Regions from separate parts of the Homo sapiens genome. Here all the other regions are linked to region 1. The links are contacts of gene promoters, found by promoter capture Hi-C in human tissues and cell types (Jung and others, 2019). All regions are on one chromosome and are shown on one strand. Each heading gives the region's core, a stretch centred on a gene start or on the middle of the fragment in contact. The rest is flanking DNA. Distances are from core to core; before and after follow the strand shown.

What was found. The method cuts DNA at HindIII sites, captures the fragments that hold promoters and counts their contacts. A contact is called where the count stands out against the background at its distance.
Region 2: a fragment that was not itself captured here is called in contact with the fragment with the promoter of PRDM13 in region 1 in 1 of the 25 tissues and cell types used here (mesendoderm cells).
Region 3: a fragment that was not itself captured here is called in contact with the fragment with the promoter of PRDM13 in region 1 in 1 of the 25 tissues and cell types used here (adrenal gland).
Region 4: a contact is called between a fragment that was not itself captured here and the fragment with the promoter of PRDM13 in region 1, in 1 of the 25 tissues and cell types used here (mesendoderm cells).

Annotation. Positions count from the first base shown.
Region 1 is chr6:99,605,583-99,608,821 of GRCh38, reverse strand. It overlaps PRDM13 (PR/SET domain 13), which reads right to left and starts at 1,989. Exons shown (of 4, transcript NM_021620.4): 1 at 1,644-1,989; 2 at 1-81. The coding sequence starts at 1,787. The HindIII fragment of the contact is 8,735 bases long and covers 1-3,239 here.
Region 2 is chr6:99,809,416-99,812,595 of GRCh38, reverse strand. No RefSeq gene overlaps it. Among named protein-coding and RNA genes, the nearest start is that of MCHR2-AS1, 180 kb to the left of the region's middle. The HindIII fragment of the contact is 3,232 bases long and covers 1-3,173 here.
Region 3 is chr6:99,446,830-99,449,936 of GRCh38, reverse strand. The region is part of intron 13 of USP45 (ubiquitin specific peptidase 45); the gene reads left to right. Among named protein-coding and RNA genes, the nearest start is that of PNISR, 23 kb to the right of the region's middle. The HindIII fragment of the contact is 3,023 bases long and covers 63-3,085 here.
Region 4 is chr6:99,830,554-99,833,662 of GRCh38, reverse strand. No RefSeq gene overlaps it. Among named protein-coding and RNA genes, the nearest start is that of MCHR2-AS1, 160 kb to the left of the region's middle. The HindIII fragment of the contact is 3,906 bases long and covers 1-3,109 here.

The sequences.
Region 1 (3,239 bases), core at 740-3,239:
TCTGGCTGCCCGGATTAACCCTATCCACTCCAGAGGGGAGCCCCCCGACTCGTCCACCAGCTCCCCTCTCACCATGCGCACCTGCAACACAAGCAGTGGTCGTTCTCCCCCGCACCTTGGCCAGGCCCACAACCCAAACAGAAAGTTTATCCTCCACCCCAACCCAACACAGGAAAGTGGTTGTTTTTGGTTTGGCCAGACCACTATGGGCTACTGGGAGGAGGAGAATTCCTTAGGACCTTGCTTCGGGGAGGGAGAAAGAGGAAAGTCTACCTATGCTAACAGTACTCCCACTTCCCTGCGCCCCACCTTGACGACACGGGGAGGGGAGAGGGGTGTTGAGAGCATCCTCCCTGAGTGCTTAGGCACATCTTGTACCAAGTTGTCCCCTACCCCAGCTCTCCCATTTGCAGTTCTGAGAGCAGCCGTAACACCACGGTAGAGACATTTCTAGGTCAGTCCCAGGGCCCAGAGCGTACCCCCGACAAACAAACAAAAAAATTATCTCATGCCTCCTGTATTCTGTGTGCATCGCACCTAGTTGCCTGTGAGCCCTGCAGCTAAAGTCTCGGAACAAAGCCCAAGCGGGGAAAAGCTTGCCCGCAGCTGGCAGGCCATTTAAAAGCAATTAAAACGCGTTTAAAGAGGAATGCGCGGTGGGCACCAAACCCCGCTTTAGACTGTAGTGGGGGGCGTGATTGCAGGAGGAGCGAGGTGCAAGTCCCGCTGGCTGGACACCGGAGCTTTTTACTAGAAAGCTCCAAGCAAGGCAAGCTAAAGCCAAGGAAGCCAAAGTCCTTTCTTCTACCCCAGACTTCTGCCTTCATTTCCCGGTCGCTGTTTGCCGACCTTTGGCTCCTGGGACGCCCCCAAAGCGGGCGAGTGCTATAAGTCTCTCTGGTCAGGGGTCGCGACGGTGTGTGGAGTGTGGGAGTCAAAGCTAGTGGTTTGGCCCTGGCGCCTCCCGGTTGGGCCTCTGGACTCTCAGAGCCCCGCTGCAGACGCTCTGACCCTGTGCCCCGCGCGAATGGGCGCGCCTCGCCCTTGGAGCCCGCGTCAGAGCCAGTACCTTGCTCATCCTCTCTCCATATGCCGCATACCCACAAGCCGACATCGGCAAGGGAAAAAAAAATATCTGAGGAGGTTCTAGGAACTGAGAGCCTCCCAAAGATTTTTTTTTTCAGGAAAAAAAATTACTTTAAGGCGAAATTAGGCCTCAAATTAACATATTGAAGGGCAGAAGGGAAGAAAGGGTCTCGATGCCCTGAGCCCCCAGAAAGAGGGTGCTTTTGCAGAGAGAGCTGCGGACAGCGTGCGGGGGTGGGCTTCTGGCTTCTGACTGAGGAGACCCGAGAGCGCAGGGGAAAACACAAGCTGCGAATGGTCCCGGCACCTACAGCGCTCAGTGCACCCCACCCAGGGCTGTCGCCTCTCGGCCACATCCTCTCCTCTCAGCCCGACCCCGTCCAGCTCTCACAGTTAAAGAGGCTACTTGCTCAGAATAATAGGAGTCCCCTTCCACCCGGCAGAATTAGCAGGTAACGACTCAATCACTCCCTTCCTCCACTTTCTCTCGTACCCCTTTCCCGGGTCAGGGCACTGAGAGGCGAATGGCAGTGGGCAGAGGTCTGAATGGTCAATACCTTTTTCTTAGGCCCGGGCTCCCTGCGGTCTGACAGGTACTTGCCCAGCTTGAAGGTACCAGGCACCGGTCCGAGGCGCAAGCCGGCCGGGATGCAGCAGTCGGCACTCACGCTGGTGGCTGGCGCTCTGGCGGCTCCGTGCATTGTTGCCGCCGCCACCAGGCAGGCGCTCGGGTGCTCCAGGTCCTTGGAAGGGCGCGAGTGACAGAGCTGGAGCTGCGCGCTAGCCAGAGAGCCGCGCCCCGACGTGCGTCCTCCGCCCGCGGAGTGACGCGGGCGGGCATGCACTGCGCCTTTTCAATCGGGGCGGGAGCCTTTTGGCACCGCTAGCGCAAGGGCGCGGAGTTTGGTGAGAGAGTTGCGCTGCGAAGCAGCTGCAGAGTCCCACCCGAGAGGGTCACATGGAGTGGTTCCCTCAGCCCCCTGCATAATCGAGGCCGCTGAATGGCTAGCACACAATGGTCCAGGCGACCTTCCCATTCCTAAAAATCCAATTTGTCAAGGGCGAAGAAAAGGCACTGGTGAATCAAAGGTCCGGCGGGACCATTAATCCTCAGCATGGGGTATTGTCCTCCAGACAGTTACGATATTTTAAGTGACAAATCCACTGTATAATTTCTCCATAAATTTTACTTCCTTTTATTGTTCCCCGACAAACCAGTTTTGGGAAATAAGTGACTACTTTAAGTCTACTTGGCTGATTCCTTTGAGCCTTGATCTACTTCAAAGATTTTTAATTCTCTCCCCTTGGCTTTATTGTAAAGGAGATTAAACAAAGAGATGGAGACTGTTTGGAGGACTTGTTAACTACTATTGATTTCTGGCGTGTGCCATACAGAAATTAGGCAGGTACTTGATGGGAAAACACCAGAAAATACCTACACTTTTTAAATAACAACCATATTACCATTTCAGGGGATTGGGTTCAGGCCAGTCGTCTATTCAGAACCGCTTTAATTCTCACTTCTGTCCCATTTCGTCCGAAAATATGATGAAGCCTCCAGACCAAGTTGAGAAGGGGAGGTCAACTGCTCATCACTTTTCTCGGGCACACCCCGGGCCTGCACTTTCTCTGGAGAATGGGAAACAGCCCCAGAACCAACAGTTTCGAATGGGGATCCTGCGCCCCGGTCCGCAGCCCAGGGTTGAAGAGGAAGAAGTTCTACCAGTGGGTTATTGATCACGTCCCCTAGAAGATGTCCTTGGACTAACTTCCCTAAAACCAGCAACCTGGACTTTTCTATTAAAAAAAAAACAGTAAACAAAAACGAAAATCACCGCAATCTGTTAAAGGTTGTAGAGAAGAGGGGCGAGGTGGGCGTTTGGGACAACTCTTTCTTACACCTACTTTGTGAACTAACAAGACGTTGTACTTCAGAGTTAAACCGGAGAGCTACCCGTTTTCTTTTAGGGAAGCCTCCAATTGGCGTGAGAACATTTATTTTCATAAATAGTAGCCAAGTAATCAAGTTCATCAGATATTTGTGATTTCTGCCGGCACCTGCCGCGTGCTGCTAGTTCTGAGCACAGCTCCCCAAATCCTATGCAGCCAGCACCGGAGCCCGATGCAGTTCTTCCAAGAGAGGCCTGAGTGGT
Region 2 (3,180 bases), core at 308-2,807, 200 kb before region 1:
CTGCTTCCATGAATACCTCCAAAGACAAAGTGAAGTCCTCACATACCACTTAGTGATTTGAAATAACACCCAAGCTGTAACCAAGTTCATGCCCTTGACAACTAAAGCTTTCTTCCTGGGTCAAGCTAAGCACTACTTTTTACTTAGAATAGGTTATCACCCAAGATAAACAGGAGTTCTTATGATAATAGATAATAACTCCTTTAAGAGAAAAAGGTTAGGGTTGTCCAAGGAAGTGGGAATTTTGCTTCCAGACTGCTTTTGGACTTGAGCTACAACATCCACTCTTTCCTGAGTCTCTAGCCTGCTGGTCAGCCCTAAAGATTTCAGAGTTGTCAGCCGCTCTGGTATGATCATATCTACCCCTAATTCCCACTGGATTTGCATGAACATAGCTAAATTGCATTTGAATTCAAACTGTGACCTCCCTCCTCACTCCCTGCCCATCATACCCAAAATAAACATTTTTAATAATACAAAGGAGCAATTTGTTAAGTTCTAAGAGAATAACACAGACAACAATGAATATACATATTCACAGATAAGATTACTAGTTAAGAAGAAATTGTCTGAAACAAAGAATCATAATTGATCCTTTAAAGTCTTTAAGTATTTAGAGACCTAGAGAGGTTAAAAGCAAGAGTTCCAGGAAAATGTATCAGCAAGAGGAAGGCTGTCAAGGCAGGAGCATGTTCACATATTCAGTGATTACATGCAAGGAATCATGCCAGGACCTGGGGATGTTCAGATGGTTAAGGTAAGTCTCTGCCTTGTGGTAGCTTTGTAAGTCTAGCTCAGATAACATCTATATAAAATCCTTACAACTGTTGAATATGGAAAATGCTATACTTGCCACAGTTAAGAGAGTGTTAATATTCAAACAGTTAAATATTCAAACAGAGGAAGAGGTGATAGAAAGTATTAGGGAGGAGGTAATATTTGAGCTGGGCCCAAAACGGGTAGCATTACGTCAGGCACAGAAGGCAAAAAGGGAAATCCAAGCAGAGGAAATAGCGCAAGCAAACATATAGGACATGTTCAAGAAATTATGCCCATTTCTTAGTTAGGCCAGGAATGTCATGGGAGATAGGACAGGAATGTTAGGGCAGGCTTCTTAGAGCAGGTAATTAGGCAGACATGAGCAAGGCAGGAGAGGCCCCACCCCCAGGAATGTCAGGCAACCATCAGGTGATGGTCAGGTGGCTGTTAAACAACCACTGTAAAATAATAATTGGTCATGACCAGCACCAGGGAAACAGAGTCTCCCAGTAGGTAGTAAACACCTGAAGCTGGTGATCAGCAGCTTCCTGATAAGATCTCAGGAGCTGGATGAGTGGGCTCAAGCATGTACGCTAAGAGGCAAAATGGCAGCATTTAACCAGTACATGACCCTCCTTTAGGAACACTAGACTGGTAAGAAAAAAACACCTAAAGTGTGCTGTACAGCTTCAGTAAGCACACTGTGCATGTGGCCCCTCCCAAGTGCTGGCAGGCCACTGCACATGCAGACAGCTCGCTCCAAGGGAAGAATCAAGGGAGAAGAAACATAAACCCTGGAACCATGCCAATGTACAAAACCCCAAGTCAAGGGCCAGACAGGACACTTGCATCTCTTAAGTCACCTTCTTGACCCTCTTCCAAGTGTACTTTACTTCCTTTTGTTCCTGCTCTAAAACTTTTTGATAAACTCACTCCTGCTCTAAAATTTGCTTAGGTCTCTCTCTCTACCTGAAACCTACTTCTGCTCCTCAGCCAAATTATTTCCTCCAAGGAGGCAAGGGTCAGGTTTGCGGCAGACCTGTCAGATTCGCCACTGGTAACAGGCTCGGGCTGTGGAAGAACTTTAATCCCAGAAGTTTGGATTTTATTCTTCAGGCAGTGAGAATTCCCTGAAGAGCAAGCAATGGGGTCTGAGTAGAAGTTTTATGAAAATAAATCTGAAAACAGCATATGGTACAGAAAGCAAGAGTGGGGAACAAATTTATCTATAGATACAGGATGAGCTAGAAATCTAGCTGCAAAAGCTTATAGTAGAAAAATGGAAGGTTGTGAAAGACAGCACAAATGAACAGACAGGAGGCAACGTATGTGAGAGATGTTGCACAATAGAATAAACCAGGATGCAACAAGTGGTTGAGGTGACAGGTAAGAGATACAGACAAGTTAAAGAGGATGGCTTGATTTCTAGCTGGATGATGAGGTTGGTGATACAATTAACAGAAATAATCTCAGAGGGGAGGGAAGAAGATAATATGAACAAGTCATGTTCAGGGACTCAAATGTAAAACATCCTAGAATGGGCTTCTCAATAAAAGCTTCAGGAGATTTAGGAACACCCAAAGGGAATGAATACACACACACACACACACACACACACACACACACACACACACGCACACACACACAAAATCTGTCATCAAACTCTCAATCACATCTGAACTTTCCCCCAGCTTTTTAGCTTGGTTCTATTCTTCTAAATGGATAGAGCCTTTATATTGAGGAGTGAGTGGTTAGAAGTAAATTTGAAAAATTTGATGGCCTGTGAAGGAACTTAAAATCTAGATGAGGGGTCTTGCAGAAAAATGGGGGAAGTGGCATTTTTTAAATTGAGGCAAGAAACAATGAAAGTGATGTTTTAGCAGATTGATTTGAAATAAAAAGCAGAACTATTTGAAGAAAGAGACCAGAAATAGAAAGACCAGGTAAGAAGGCATTAGGACAATCCAGGTAATGAGCGAGCCCTGGGGAGAACAGAGAAAAACAACCTGGAAACAATCAAGGCAGATGTACAAGGACTGAGTGACCAGTTGAACATGGGAGTGAAGAGAAAGGTAAGCCTGACCTTGGTGATTGTGGTGCTGTTTGCAGAAACATGGACTTTAGGGAGAGACCGTTCTTACTGAAGAGCTATGCTACATGTGCTCAGTTGAAAGCAGTGCTGGGATGTGCAAGCAAACATGTTCAGGTCATCAAAGGAGTTAAAGAGTTATGCCCAGGAAAGAGTTCAGAACCAGAGACAAATTCAGGCATCATCAGCACCAATAAAACCCTAAAAGAGCAGTCGTGAGAATATGATCGTTGAAAAAAAAAAAAAAAAAAGCTAAACCTTGAATCAGAATAAAAAGAAAACTATCAGAACATATAAATTGAAACAAAATGGTAGAAACAATCTAGGTTTTG
Region 3 (3,107 bases), core at 325-2,824, 160 kb after region 1:
AACCAGTAGTCATTCAGGAGCAGGTTTTTCAGTTTCCATGTAGTTGAGCGGTTTTGAGTGAGTTTCTTAATCCTGAGTTCTAGTTTGATTGCACTGTGGTCTGAGAGACAATTTGTTATAATTTCTGTTCTTTTACATTTGCTGAGGAGTGCTTGACTTCCAACTGTGTGGTCAATTTTGGAATAAGTGTGATGTGCTGAGAAGAATGTATATTCTGTTGATTTGGGGTGGAGAGTTCTGTTCATGTCTACTAGGTCCACTTGATGCAGAGCTGAGTTCAATTCCTGGCTATCCTTGTTAACTTTCTGTCTCATTGATCTGTCTAATGTTGACAGTGGGGTGTTAAAGTCTCCCATTATTATTGTGTGGGAGTCTAAGTTTCTTTGTAGGTCTCTGGGGACTTGCTTTATGAATGTGGGTGCTCCTGTATTGGGTGCTCCTGTATTGGGTGCATATATATTTAGGATAGTTAGCTCTTCTTGTTGAATTGATCCCTTTACCATTATGTAATGACCTTCTTTCTCTTTTGATCTTTGTTGTTTTAAAGCCTGTTTTATCAGAGACTAAGATTGCAACCCCTGCCTTTTTTTGTTTTCCATTTGCTTGGTAGATCTTCCTCCATCCTTTTATTTTGAGTCTATGTGTGTCTCTGCACGTGAGATGGGTCTCCTGAATACAGCACACTGATGGGTCTTGACTCTTTATGCAGTTTTTCAGTCTGTATCTTTTAATTGGAGCATTTAGCCCATGTACATTTAAGGTTAATATTGTTATGTGTGAATCTGATCCTGTCATGATGTTAGCTGGTTATTTTGCTCGTTAGTTGATGCCGTTTCTTCCTAGCATTGATGGTCTTTACAGTTTGGCATGTTTTTGCTGTGGCTAGTACCAGTTGTTCCTTTCCATGTTTAGTGCTTCCTTCAGGAGCTCTTGTAGGGCAGGTCTGGTGGTGACACAATCTCTCAGCATTTGCTTGTCTGTAAAGGATTTTATTTCTCGTTCACTTATGAAGCTTAGTTTGGCTGGATATGAAATTCTGGGGTGAAAATTCTTTTAAGAATGTTGACTATTGGCCCCCAATCTCTTCTGGCTTGTAGAGTTTCTGCCAAGAGATCTGCTGTTAGTCTGATGGGTTTCCCTTTGCGGGTAACCTGACCTTTCTCTCTGGCTGCCCTTAACATTTTTTCCTTCATTTCAACTTTGGTGAATCTGACAATTATGTGTTTTGGAGTTGCTCTTCTCAAGGAGTATCTTTGTGGCGTTTTCTGTATTTGCTGAATTTGCATGTTGGCCTGCCTTGCTATGTTGGGGAAGTTCTCCTGGATAATATCCTGCAGAGTGTTTTCCATTCTCCCTGTCACTTTCAGGTACAGCAATCAGACATAGATTTGGTCTTTTCACATATTCCCATATTTCTTGGAGGCTTTGTTTCTTTTTATTCTTTTTTCTCTAAACTTCTCTTCTTGCTTCATTTCATTCATTTGATCTTCAATCACTGATATCCTTTCTTGCAGTTGATCAAATCGGCTACTGAAGCTTGTGCATTTGTCACGTAGTTCTCCTGTCATGGTTTTCAGCTCAATCAGGTCATTTAAGGACTTCTCTACACTGATTATTCTAGTCAGCCCTTTGTCTAATCTTTTTTCAAGGTTTTTAACTTATTTGCATTGGGTTCGAACTTCCTCATTTAGCTAGGAGAAGTTTGATCATCTGAAGCCTTCTTCTCTCAACTCGTCAAAGTCATTCTCCGTCCAGCTTTGTTCCGTTGCTGGCGAGGAGCTGTGTTCCTTTGGAAGGGGAGAGGCGCTCTGATTTTTAGAATTTTCAGCTTTTCTGCTCTGTTTTTTCCCCATCTTTGTGGTTTTATCTACCTTTGGTCTTTGATGATGGTGACTGACAGATGGGGTTTTGGTGTGGATGTCCTGTTTGTTAGTTTTCCTTCTAACAGTCAGGACCCTCAGCTGCAGGTCTGTTGGAGTTTGCTGGAGGTCCACTCCAGGCCCTGTTTGCCTGGATATCAGCAGCGGAGGCTGCAGAACAGCGAATATTGCTGAATAGCAAATGTTGCTACCTGATCGTTCCTCTGGAAGCTTTGTCTCAGATGGGTACCCGGCCGTGTGAGGTGTCAGTGTGCCCCTACTGGGGGGTGCCTCCCAGTTAGGCTACTCGGAGGTCAGGGACCCACTTGAGGAGGCAGTCTGTCCGTTCTCAGATCTCAAACTCTGTGCTGCGAGAACCACTACTCTCTTCAAAGCTGTCAGACAGGGACATTCAAGTCTGCAGGGGTTTCTGCTGCCTTTTGTTGGGCTGTGCCCTGACCCCAGAGGTGGAGTCTACAGAGGCAGGCAGGCCTCCTTGAGCTGTGGTGGGCTCCACCCAGTTCGAGCTTCCTGGCCGGCCGCTTTGTTTACCAACTGTTAGTATTATATGTATAATAGGAAAGTTTGTTTCCAAAAAAAAGTACTATATAAATTCAGCGGAGTGGAACTTGTTGGCTAATGTTATTTTTCCTGATTTTGCAGATAAAAAAAATTGAGGCAAGACACTTTTTATAACTTACTCTTCTTCCCCTGAATAACTAAAACTGAGTATCAATTACTCATGATAGTCTTTTCTTTATTTTTTGTCTTGACCCTTCAGCCAAGGTATAGGAAAAGAAAAATGTACTTCAAGCCATCAGCTGTGTGGAAACTTTAGTGAAACATTTCAGGTAGCTTAAAATTTTTAATTAGTTGATTCCCCCCTTCCCAAACTTAGGTTATTTTTTTCCCGTAATTTTCTTCCAGATCTATGGCAACCAAGCAACACTGTGTCATAATAGTTTATAGTTTACTTTTGTTACTTTTTAATTTGTTTAAAAAACAGATACATTTTCAGTGTTTAAAAATGAACAAGTATGGAAAGGCTTATACAGTAACTGAAAAGTCTCCTTTGGGAAGCCAAGGTGGGAGGATTGCTTGAGGTCAGGAGTTCAAGACCAGCCTAAGCAACATGGCGAGACTTTATCTCTACAAAAAATTAAAAAATTAGCCAGGTATGGTGGTACATACTTGTAGTAGTAACTACATGGGAGGCTGAGGTGGGAGGATCACTTGAGTCCGAGAGTT
Region 4 (3,109 bases), core at 438-2,937, 230 kb before region 1:
AAGACAAGGTAGTGGAGCAGAATGGACTCTGAACTTAGAAAAAGAAAACTGGATTATTGTCCTGGTTCTGCCATTAATAAGCCATTGACGTTTTATGAGCCCCACTGTCCTCTTCCACACAAAAAAAGACTTAGGTGAAATGAATAATCTTCAAAATATTTTGAAGGCTAATATTCTAGAAACAGTGTATGATTACCCTGCCTATGAAGAAACAGACAGGGAGAAGAAAAAGGTGCAGAGTAGGACTAGGCACCTGCCTGCAGGGCCTGAGCCCCCGATTTACCTCTGGCTTCAGCTGCCTGCTAAATCAAAGCCAGTGCCCATTCAGAATCAGCAAGTGCCCTTAGAGCAACATCACTTTTTCTTTCTTTTTTCTTTTTTACTTCTTTCTTTCTTTTCATTCCTTTCTTTTCTTTCTTTCTTTTCATTCCTTTCTTGTCTTTCTTTCTTTCTTTTTCTTTCCTTTCTTTTCTTTCTTTCTTTCTCTTTCCTTTGTTTTTTTTTGGTTTTTGTTTTGTTTTTTTTTTGAGACAGGTTCTCACTGTCGCCCAGACTTGAGTGCAGTGATGCAATCACGGCTCAGAACAGCCTTGACCTCTCAGGTTCAAATGGTCCTCCCTCTTCAACTTCTAGCCAGAGTAACTGGGACCACAGACTCACATCACCAAGTTGGCCAGGCTAACTTATTATTTGTTTTGTAGAGACAGTGTCTTGCCATGTTGCCCAGGCTTATCTCAAACTCCTAGCCTCAAGTGATCCTCCAGCCTCAGCCTCCCGAAGTGCTGAGATTACAGGAATGAGCCACCACGCCCAGCCTATTTACTTCTTTGAATTCAAGCTTTTGCTCTCAGTTTCCCCTCAAATTTTTGCTATCTGAGCCATGAATTCAAATTGTATTTTTTATGTTTATCCAGCATTTTGCAGCATTTCATGGTTGAAGAATTTTTTGACTATTCCATTATATTGCCAGAATTGGAAGTTACTATTCACCCTTTTACAATACCCACTGATACAAATAATAAAATCATAGGAAACTATACTGCAGACAGCATCCATGAAAATCCATCCCTGTGGCACAGTATCCCAGATATCTGCAACATCAAGATTAAAAAAATAATAATTGTTTAAAATCAAGGGATTAATCAGAATACATCTGCTCCAGTACTTAAGTCCATAAAGGTTTAGTATTTAATGCTACTTACTATCTATCTGAGATATTTAATTTAAGCTATGGTGATAATCTAGAAGCAAAGAAACATATTTTCACAAAAAAAGTCTTAGAATATTATTTTAACAAAATCACAATATTAATTTCCTCATCTGAAAGCACAAGTGAGGCCGCAACGGTATTATATTCCAAGGGTGGAAATCAATCCTGCCTTGGCCAACACAATCCTTCTCATCCCAGGTTCATGGAAAATTGAATTGTCACTCTCTTATTAGTTAGCTGAGTGGGGAGGGCTCCCAGCACAGGGATCTATAATAATTCTGGGCTGAAGTACCTGGGTTAGGCATTGAGCCAAAGCAGGGCTTCCCTCTCCCTATTAAATATCGATATTATCATCAACCACAGCCTGAAGCAGCAAGAATTCCCAAGCACCTAAGTGTTTTTGCAGGCAAGGCGTGGTGGCTCATGCCTATAATCCCAGCACTTTGGAAGGTCAAGGCAGGAGGATCGCTTGAATCCAGGAGTTCGAGACCATCCTGGGTAACAAAGCAAGGACTCATCTCTGTAAAAAATACAAAAATTAGTCAGGTGGCTGGGCACGGTGGCTCATGCCTGTAATCCCAGCACTTTGGGAGGCCGAGGTGGGCAGATCACAAGGTCAGGAGATCGAGACTATCCTGGCTAACACGGTGAAACCCCATCTCTACTAAAAATACAAAAATTAGCCAGGCATGGTGGCATGCACCTGTAGTCCCAGCTACTCGGGAGGCTGAGACAGGAGAATCACTTGAATCCAGAAGGTGGAGGTTGCAGTGAACCGAGTTTGGGCCACTGCACTCCAGCCTGGGCAACAGGGCGAGACTCCTTCTAAAAAAAAAATTAGTCAGATGTGGTGGCACATGCCAGTAGTCCCAGCTGCTAAGAAGGCTGAGGTGGGAGGATAACTTGAGTCTGGGAGTTCAAGGATACAATGAGCCATGATTGAGCCACTGCACTCAGCCTGGGAGACAGAGGGAGACCCTGTCTCAAAAAATAAATTAAATAATTAATTAAATGTTTTTGAAAGAGGAAAAAGAGCAGGAATAGTTAGGGCCCAAGGGGTCCTTGGTCTGAAGGCAATAGGAAGAGAAGGTAAGGCTGAACAAGGACACATTCTCTTTCAACACAGCATGCCTCTGGTAAATATGACCCAGTCCAAGTCCTAAAATCTGGTCAGATTAGCACCCCCTTTGGGGAGTATGGAGGAATAGAAAAGAAGTTGTAGAAGGAAAGAAAGACCACTTACCATTCATATATACATATTTCTTTTTCAAATCTCATTGAAACAGAAAACTACTCTTCTGGCATTTCAGATAAAACATGCCATATTGCTAAATATATGCATATATTATTTTATATATGCACGTATGCATATATATTAAACTAATATATATAAATTATGTTCATATATGTATGTATGTATGTGTATATGTATATGTGTGTATGTGTGTGTATATATAAAGATTTATACCAAAGGCAACATTTTTCTAAATTGGATTGATTTCCGAATTGATAAGGATCTGTACGTACATCTCTTATACAAGTTTTGCTGAGGAAACATTTTAGTCCTATACCCATATAAACAAACTATCATTGTAGCTAAACATACAGAAATGGCCTTACTGTAGGCCTTGCCTTCAGGTTTTTCAATCAAAACTGAAATTGTCAGACATGGAGATCGTCAGAGCTCCATGTTAGGTCTTAGCATGCCAACAGCAGGCATCCTTCAGAGGTTAACATTTTGGTAATATTCATGAGTAACTGAAATTAAAATTAAAGGTTTTTTTGTCCTCACTAGGACATGGTAGAAAAGTGCTAAAATACAACTATTTGTATTGAATGAATAGTTTATTTACTTTTGAAACTAGATTAGCATCTGGACTGTGATAAATCCACTAATTA